Regions from separate parts of the Homo sapiens genome. Here regions 2 and 3 are each linked to region 1. Evidence: promoter capture Hi-C in 16 types of primary human blood cells and fetal thymus (Javierre and others, 2016). All regions are on one chromosome and are shown on one strand. Each heading gives the region's core, a stretch centred on a gene start or on the middle of the fragment in contact. The rest is flanking DNA. Distances are from core to core; before and after follow the strand shown.

What was found. The method cuts DNA at HindIII sites, captures the fragments that hold promoters and counts their contacts. A CHiCAGO score of 5 or more calls a contact.
Region 2: a contact is called between a fragment that was not itself captured here and the fragment with the promoter of TIMP3 in region 1, in 3 of 17 cell types (M2 macrophages, monocytes and M0 macrophages). The highest score is 6.8, in M2 macrophages.
Region 3: a contact is called between a fragment that was not itself captured here and the fragment with the promoter of TIMP3 in region 1, in 4 of 17 cell types (monocytes, megakaryocytes, M2 macrophages and 1 more). The highest score is 10.1, in monocytes.

Annotation. Positions count from the first base shown.
Region 1 is chr22:32,800,417-32,803,116 of GRCh38, forward strand. It overlaps TIMP3 (TIMP metallopeptidase inhibitor 3), which reads left to right and starts at 1,289. Exons shown (of 5, transcript NM_000362.5): 1 at 1,289-1,706. The coding sequence starts at 1,586. The region is part of intron 6 of SYN3 (synapsin III); the gene reads right to left. The HindIII fragment of the contact is 16,798 bases long and covers 1-2,700 here.
Region 2 is chr22:32,699,011-32,701,906 of GRCh38, forward strand. The region is part of intron 6 of SYN3 (synapsin III); the gene reads right to left. Among named protein-coding and RNA genes, the nearest start is that of TIMP3, 100 kb to the right of the region's middle. The HindIII fragment of the contact is 1,158 bases long and covers 1,047-2,204 here.
Region 3 is chr22:32,680,058-32,682,917 of GRCh38, forward strand. The region is part of intron 6 of SYN3 (synapsin III); the gene reads right to left. Among named protein-coding and RNA genes, the nearest start is that of SYN3-AS1, 110 kb to the left of the region's middle. The HindIII fragment of the contact is 9,004 bases long and covers 1-2,860 here.

The DNA of each region.
Region 1 (2,700 bases), core at 39-2,538:
CAATCATCCCATCTTTCTGTGCCGGTTCCTCATCTGGAAAGTGGGAGTGATACTTGTGCTTGCTTTTCCTACCCACAAAGATTATTGTGAGAGCTATAATACGGTGAGATACAGAATCCTGCTTTTAAAAATACAAAGCAGAATCAAGATGTCAATAATAAGGATAGTAATTGTGTTAGTTATCTGCAATCATCTATTATAGCTAGTCGTCTAGGATCCTGGATCGTTCTCCTGGTTTTACTACAGTTTTGGATCAGCTCACCCCCAAATCCCTTGCTGAAGGGTGGAGCTCTGTCAGCCATGGGCAGGGAACCACTTCCTCTTGCCTTTCTACTTTCTGTCTTTCAAACATGCCCAGGGTCTTTGCACTTGCTGTTCCCCCTGCCTGGTACCTCTCTCCTGTGGCTTGCCCCAGAGCTGATCCTTGTCTTTGTCCACTTCTCAGCGAGGATGGCACTTCAGGGAGCCCTTCCCTTACTATCGCAGAGAGAGCAGGCCCTCCCCAGTCATGTCCAACCCAGAACTCTGTTTTGTTTTCTTCATAGCCCTAGCATCACAGAAAATCACCCTGTGCATTCATGGATGTCCACGGGGGCAAGGGCTTTGTGTTGCTTAACCCAGCATCCTGAACCGTGTTTGTTGAATGAATACAGAACCCCGTTTGCTCTGGGAGAGCACAGAAAACAGTCTTCTATCATATATCATAGCCAGCTGCAAACAGCAGATGGCTTCCCATATCCCAGAGAGTAAGAACCAGAGAGAGAGAGAAAGAGAGAGAGTTTGGGTCTTTCTCCTCTGTGCCTGCTCTCTCCAGAGAAACTGGAGGGGTAGCAGTTAGCATTCCCCCGCTGGTTCCACCAAGCACAGTCAAGGTCTCTAGGACATGGCCACCCCTCACCTGTGGAAGCGGTCCTGCTGGGGTGGGTGGGTGTTAGTTGGTTCTGGTTTGGGTCAGAGACACCCAGTGGCCCAGGTGGGCGTGGGGCCAGGGCGCAGACGAGAAGGGGCACGAGGGCTCCGCTCCGAGGACCCAGCGGCAAGCACCGGTCCCGGGCGCGCCCCAGCCCACCCACTCGCGTGCCCACGGCGGCATTATTCCCTATAAGGATCTGAACGATCCGGGGGCGGCCCCGCCCCGTTACCCCTTGCCCCCGGCCCCGCCCCCTTTTTGGAGGGCCGATGAGGTAATGCGGCTCTGCCATTGGTCTGAGGGGGCGGGCCCCAACAGCCCGAGGCGGGGTCCCCGGGGGCCCAGCGCTATATCACTCGGCCGCCCAGGCAGCGGCGCAGAGCGGGCAGCAGGCAGGCGGCGGGCGCTCAGACGGCTTCTCCTCCTCCTCTTGCTCCTCCAGCTCCTGCTCCTTCGCCGGGAGGCCGCCCGCCGAGTCCTGCGCCAGCGCCGAGGCAGCCTCGCTGCGCCCCATCCCGTCCCGCCGGGCACTCGGAGGGCAGCGCGCCGGAGGCCAAGGTTGCCCCGCACGGCCCGGCGGGCGAGCGAGCTCGGGCTGCAGCAGCCCCGCCGGCGGCGCGCACGGCAACTTTGGAGAGGCGAGCAGCAGCCCCGGCAGCGGCGGCAGCAGCGGCAATGACCCCTTGGCTCGGGCTCATCGTGCTCCTGGGCAGCTGGAGCCTGGGGGACTGGGGCGCCGAGGCGTGCACATGCTCGCCCAGCCACCCCCAGGACGCCTTCTGCAACTCCGACATCGGTAAGCGCTCCTGGTGCCCCGCCCGAGCCCCACGCTGCAGCCAGGACTGCAGCGCTGCTTAGGGAGGCAGGGCGAGCCCCACTCCTTTCCTCTGCCCCAGGAGAGGGGCAGACGGGGTTGGGGCGGAGTGGAGAAACTCGATGTCCTTGGGCGGGGGCGCTGGCATAGCTGAGAGGGGAAGATGCCCTGCAGAGGAAACTCACAGTGGCTGAGGGAGCCCCTGGCCGCCTTTGCTTTCCTAACTTAGGTCGTGAGGTTCCTACCGGTCCTTTTGACATCTGGAAAATGTCCCCATTCACTACTAACGGAGGAAGGGCTAGAAGAGAAGGGTGGGGAAAGGGTTCCCAAAACTTGGAATGCTAACTAAAGTGCTGGGAAATTGAATAGTTAAAAAAAAAAAAAAAAGTTGCCCGCCATGTGCACGGAAAGTTGCAGGAGAAACTTGGAGTACTCCGAGTCTGCATCATCTCCTGCGCCTATGAAATTCATTCTTTTCACTGAGACCCAACCCAGCTGCAGGCTTCCCAGGCAAGCGCTAACCGAGCTTCTGGGACTGCCAAGTTTGGGTGGATTTAAGGGGGAAAATGAGGAGAAAGCTGTGGCATTGACCCACGCCCTGGAGGCACTGTGTTTGAGAGTGTTGATAGCCAGCAGAAGGTGCGAGGGGTCACTCACCACATAGCTGTGAAAATTCACAGGAAGGCTATTTTTTTCCCCCTTGAATGTGTGTGGGGAGGGGGAGAATGGGTAGTGGAAAACAGATTTGTCACCAAAAGAACAAACCTGCCAAGGGTCACATCACGGTGACAGTTCCAGACTGGACTTAGTGTCTTGAGTAGAGAGACCCTGTAAAGAGACCTCCTACTCCTTAGTGTGTATGGAGGGCCCCGAGAGCATCCTGGGAGGCTTGTCTGGGAGTGTTTGGGACACTTGTGTTTGGATGGCTAAAGGTGGAGTGGCATCTGGGAAACATCTCTCTCCTCCTTTCCAGCCC
Region 2 (2,896 bases), core at 376-2,875, 100 kb before region 1:
ACCGGAGACAAACATCTGGACTTACTCTCCACTGAACCAGACATTCAGCCTTGGCGCTAGACGCTCTGAAACTTGGCCGGGCTTCCCACAGAGCTTGGCCCAGGGTCTCCAGTGGCTCCATTGAGCTTGGCGGAGCACATTGACAGAGTTGGCCCAGAAAGACTCCAGGACAACACCCAAACTCCACAGTGCCCCCACCATGGAGTACTTGTTTTGGGGGGCTTTACGTGATGGAGGGCAGGGTGTGGACAGCCCCTGGCATGTAGGCTGAAGTTGGTTCTGACAACCCAGACCTCCACATGGGCCGTTGGGCTCCCCTGAACCCTGCTGGGCTCAGTTCAGGAGAAATGCTCTTGCCAATGGGCAGGGAGGCTTAGCATTCCACCCCTGCTCTTTTAATCCCCTCTGTGCAGGAATGTTCCACTGCAGAGACAGCAGAGCTTGCAGAGACAGGAGGTGGTGCCAAAAGGGAGAGAGTGGTGGAGAAACAGTTTTGATGAGATTTAGGGTGGTGTGTGTGCAGGGATGGGGGTAGGTGCTGAGTTAGGCTCTACCATGGACTCACTGTGTGACCTTGACCAAGTCACATTGCTCTCGGGGCCCAATTTGTTTACCTTCAAAAGATGAGGATAGACAAAAAAGATACAAGATTCATTTCTGGATAAAGCTGTAAAATTCTAAAAGCTGTTTTACTTGTGAAGTCCAAAGTAAGATTCTGTTTTTCATCTACAGGGCCTCTCCTCTAGAGAGATTTGTATACAAGTGCATTTGTAGGAAACAGGGTGTCTGTCTTAATGGGAATATCAGAGTCTACCTCTCATCTCAGTTCTAGAATTTTAAGCACCTTGAGGCAAGGTCTATGACTCATACCGCCCAGGACATAGAATTCCTCTGAATGTAATAAATAGAAGAGCACTTTGAGGTCATCGAATCCAATCTTCTTAGTTTTAGATGGGGGATAATGGGACCAGAGAAGGGAAGTTGTTCTCTCAATATTATACAATGAATCTCAGGCCCGGAACTCAGGTTCTCTGCTCCTAGAACAAAGCTTGTTCCAACAATCGAAAATTTCTGCCTGAAATTTTGTATACGGTCTCTGAATTCCAAGGCTTTCAGATGCTTCCTCTTTTTAAAATAGGCTTGACTCCTCCCTCCTTTGGGCAACTTTCAGGTTAACTCAGGGATTGACTATGGAGACTATAAGAGTCTTAAGCTCATGTGAAGTCTGTGAAATTCCACAGGCTTAAAGTATCCCTTGGGAATCTGAGAGATTTTGCCCAAGTAGCCCAAGCCTTGGACAGCAGCCTCCCTGGAAGGGATGTGGCTCCTGCATTATCTGGTCCCAACTCCAGCTCCAGGATAGGATCTCTGAGCTGACATAATACGGCCCTATTGTAAACAAGGGAGGGTCATGACCCTCCACAAATGACTAACATGCTAATTTGAAAAGTCTGCCTGGACTAGAAAAACAAACAAGAACAATGAAATTTAAGGCAACATTTTAGACAACCAGGAGGCAAGGGGAAACTCAGAAACATGAAAAAAGGAGTCCCCAACAGCTATTGTCCCTTTCATAAACACTCACTAAGCACCGGTCACGTGCCAACCAATGCATCAGCCAACACAAGAGGAAAACACATCAAGCCAGCCCTCTAAGACCTCACAATTCTAGGGGATTAGACAAGCACTCATATGGCCAGTGCTTCTAGGCTGTAAATGAAAAATAGCTTTAAACACCATGTAATAGGAAGCAGCCTCAGCCCAGATTTCTGTATTGAACTTCAGACCAGCAGCCTGCCTAACATCAACCACTTGGATGTCTCATAGGTAACGCATCTTCAAAACAGATCTCATGGTTTTTCACCCCAAATTTCCACTGTTCTGTTAGAATAAGTGACACCATCATTTACTCAGTTGCTCATTCCAGAAATGGGAATCATCCTCGATAACTACTTCTCCCTCGTTAACTCCTCATATTCATTCAATCAATCCCTAAGTCCTATAAATTCTAAACATATTTTAAATATGCCCCATCTTAACTGCTGCTTCCCTGAAAGCAAGTCAACATGATCACTTTTCTCAACAGACTCAGAATTAGCCTTCTAGAATCCACTGTTGTTTCTAATCTGTTCTCTGCAGAGTAATAATAAGACTGATTTTTAAAGAAACACACACAGTTGATTGAGTCACACTCTTGCTTAAAAAGCTTCAATGAGGACTTGTGATTCCATCCATGAATAATTAGCTGTTACAGAAACTGCCCTCCCACTGATGCAATTACTTAACTGCTCATCAGAACAAAATCTAGTATTCTTGAAATACACACAACAAAATCCACCACCTAAGAACATAAAAATCACAATACCCAGCATCCAGTAAAAAATTACCAGGTATGTAAGAAAGCAGAAAAATATAACCCATAACCAGGAGAAAAATGAATCAACAGAATCAGATCAAGAAATTATAAGAAGGTTGAATTTGTAGACAAGGACCATTAAAAAGCTGCTATTAAGTCTTACAAATATGTCCAAGGATATAAAGAAAAACATGAAGCTGATGAAGAAAGAGGTTAAAGATGTAAAAGGATGCTCATAGAATTTATAGAGATAAAACATATAATATCTGAAATGAAAAATACATTTAAGTGAAATTAAATGCAAATTATATACTATAGAAGACAACTGAAGTTGAAGCTGTAGCAATAGAATCTACCCAATATAAAGCACAGAAAAACAAAACAAAACAAACAGTGCCGCAGTGAGCTGTGGAACAATAGCAAACAGTCTGACATTATGTGTTATTGGAATCCCAGAAGAAGAGAGGGGAGTACAGAAAAAATTATGAAAATATTAATGAAAAAAATGTTTCCAAACAATGGAAATTTTAAACCCAAGAA
Region 3 (2,860 bases), core at 355-2,854, 120 kb before region 1:
AATGCCTGACATGTAATAGAGGTTCAGGTAATATTCTGTAATCGAATGAATAAATAATTATTGATTTCTACTTCTAAAAGTCCTTCTTTATTTACTTCTAAACTACAGCTCGCCATGGTGCCTTGGATAAATCTCTCATTCTAGCCACATCCTCAGATATTCTCTTTCCTTTTCTGTGGCTCCAGCTCAAATTCAATTTTCTCCATGTGGTCTCCTTTGACTTTTTATGGCAGAATTATGCACTCCCTTCTCTGTGCTCCCATACCCTTTGCCTCTGCCTGAATTCATGCACTTGTTTAATTCTACTTGATAGTACTGTTTGTTTTTCCCTTGTTTGTCTTCCCCAGAAGACTGTCAACTCTTTGAGGACAGAGGTCATGCTCTAATTTTGTCTGTATTCCACAGCATCTAGTTCAGTGTGTTTTTCAAATCAAGACACCTTGTTGAATGGGATGGGATCTGGCTGACAGCACTCTCACACCGTTGCTTGCACAGACTGGCCAACTGGTTTACCTGGTTTGCCCAACAAAGCCTCCTTAGATCTAGGTTGACTCCCTGTTCCAGAAGGCAATCCTGTGTACTCAACTTGCTAGTAGGTTTCATCCTTTGGATTCAGAATTTCCTATTTGTTCAGAGTTGTAAATTTCAGTGCCAAGCTACAAGTCCAACTCCATTCATTATCCTCTCTTTTATGTTCATGGCATATTTCAAAGTCAACATCTAAAGTCAAAAATCAAAGGATTTCCAAACTTAGTTTTTCCTCTCTCTTGAGGTTCCTTCCATATATCTAGGCTATTGCTAACATCAAATGTCCCAGCTCCAGAAATGCAGGCTGGGCTGACTTTTTTCTATGCTCTAGAAGAAAGCTGTGAAACTCAGCAAGATGTGATTCCTCCCCTTCTCCACATATCTTCACTTGTTAAATTCTACTTCTTATTTAAAGCTCAGCACAATCAATCTTTTCTATGTTTCACATATCACTTGCCATGATAAGGGAGGTGGGAGCTTGCCTGGCAGGCTCAAGGAATGGCAAGAAGGGTGATGTAGCTTGGTGAAGTGAGGGAGGAGAGAGTATGGGAGATGAGGTGGCAGAGTCGACAGGGGTTGCAGAGGGTGTAGAGAAGTGGTTCTCAACCAGGGGGCCATTTTGACCTCCAGGGATATTTGGCAACGTCTGGAGACATTTTTGGTTGTTACAACTTGGGAGTGGGGGGTGGGATGCTACTGGCATCGAGTTAGTAGACAAAGGTCAGGGATAGTGCCAAATGGCTTGCCTGGCAGGTTTGAGGGTATAGAGGAATGGTTCTCAACCAGGGGCCATTTTGGCCCCAGGGGATATTTGGCAATGTCTGGATATTTACCTTGTGCCTGGATTTGTTCTAGATACACTTTCACCTACATGTCCTCTAATCTTCTCAACAGCCATGGAACACACATATGATCCCATTTACCATATGAGAAAACCACGACTCAGAGAGGCTGAGGTTCCTGGTCAGTATGTGACCAGGGCAAGACTGGACTTCAGCTCACCTGACCAGGAAGACAGTGCTTTCTCCACCCTATTTGGCTGTTGCAGCTGCTGACTCAATCCACCATTCACAATAGTACCTCACTTTATTCAACAAATATTTTGCAAACACTTCCTATGCACCAGGCAGTGTTCTAAGCACTCAGAACACATTAGTGGATATAGCAAACAAAAGCCCATGAAGGCATGTAGATAGTTATATTCTAGTTGTGGGAGACATACTAAAAACGATCAATAGATAAAACAAGTTATGAAGTACTAGAAAGTAAAAAGAGGTATGAAATGAACTGCAGGGCAAGTGGGATAGAGAGTCCTGGAGGTATGGGATGGTGGACACAATTTCAAATACAGCTGTCACGAAGCCACATTATGATGGTGATGTTTGAGCCGAGACTTAGCAGAGGTAAGAGAGTTAGTCATGTGGGATTGGGGAAAGACGATGTAGCTTGGTGAAGTGAGGGAGGAGAGGGCACGGGAGATGAGGGGCAGCAGGGGTTGCAGAGGGTGGAGAGGAGTGGTTCTCAACCAGGGGCCATTCTGACCCCAGGGGATATGGGCAATGTCTGGAGACATTTTTGGTTGTCACAACTTGGGAGTGGGGGTGGGATGCTACTGGCCTCTAGTAGGCAAAGGTCAGGGATTCTGCAAAACATCCTACAATGCACAAGTCTGCCCCCACAAAATAGAATTATCCAGCTCCAAATATCAATCGTGTAGAGACTGAGAGACTGGTTGAGAGCCAAGATCTTTTGAGGATCTTGAACAGAGGAGTGACATGATTTGACTTACATTTTGCAAGATGCCTCTGGCTGCTGTATTGAGAATAGACTATAAGGATAAGGGCAAGGGAGGAAGCAGGGACACCAGTCTGGAGATTACTGCAGTCACCCAGGAATTAGATGTAGGACGACTCATCCCCTTCTAGGGTGGAAGGCCCTGGAAGCCAGGGAGGAAGGGCAGTAGCATTTACGGAGCACCCAGAGGGTGCTAGGCTTTCATATACATTATCTCTTTAGACCCCATCTGATCTTTATTAGTCCCAGCACTTGGATTGGAGTTAAGTTGTTTAAGTAGTTTGACATCGCTGGATGTAAATGAGGCTTTGAGTAGAAAGAAGAGAAGGTTTTTATTGCACAGCGTTTGACGAATCAGTATTTATTCTGGGTGATGTTATTTTTCACCAATAGGGTGGATGCCTGGACTGCAGGTAGGCACATGCCCTTGTAAAGGCACACGAAGAAACTCTTGGAGAAGCCCAGACAGAGCTCTCCTGTGGTACCCATGTGTTATCATTTAGCAGATATGCCCTTGGAAGGTGCCTTGGTGAGGCTA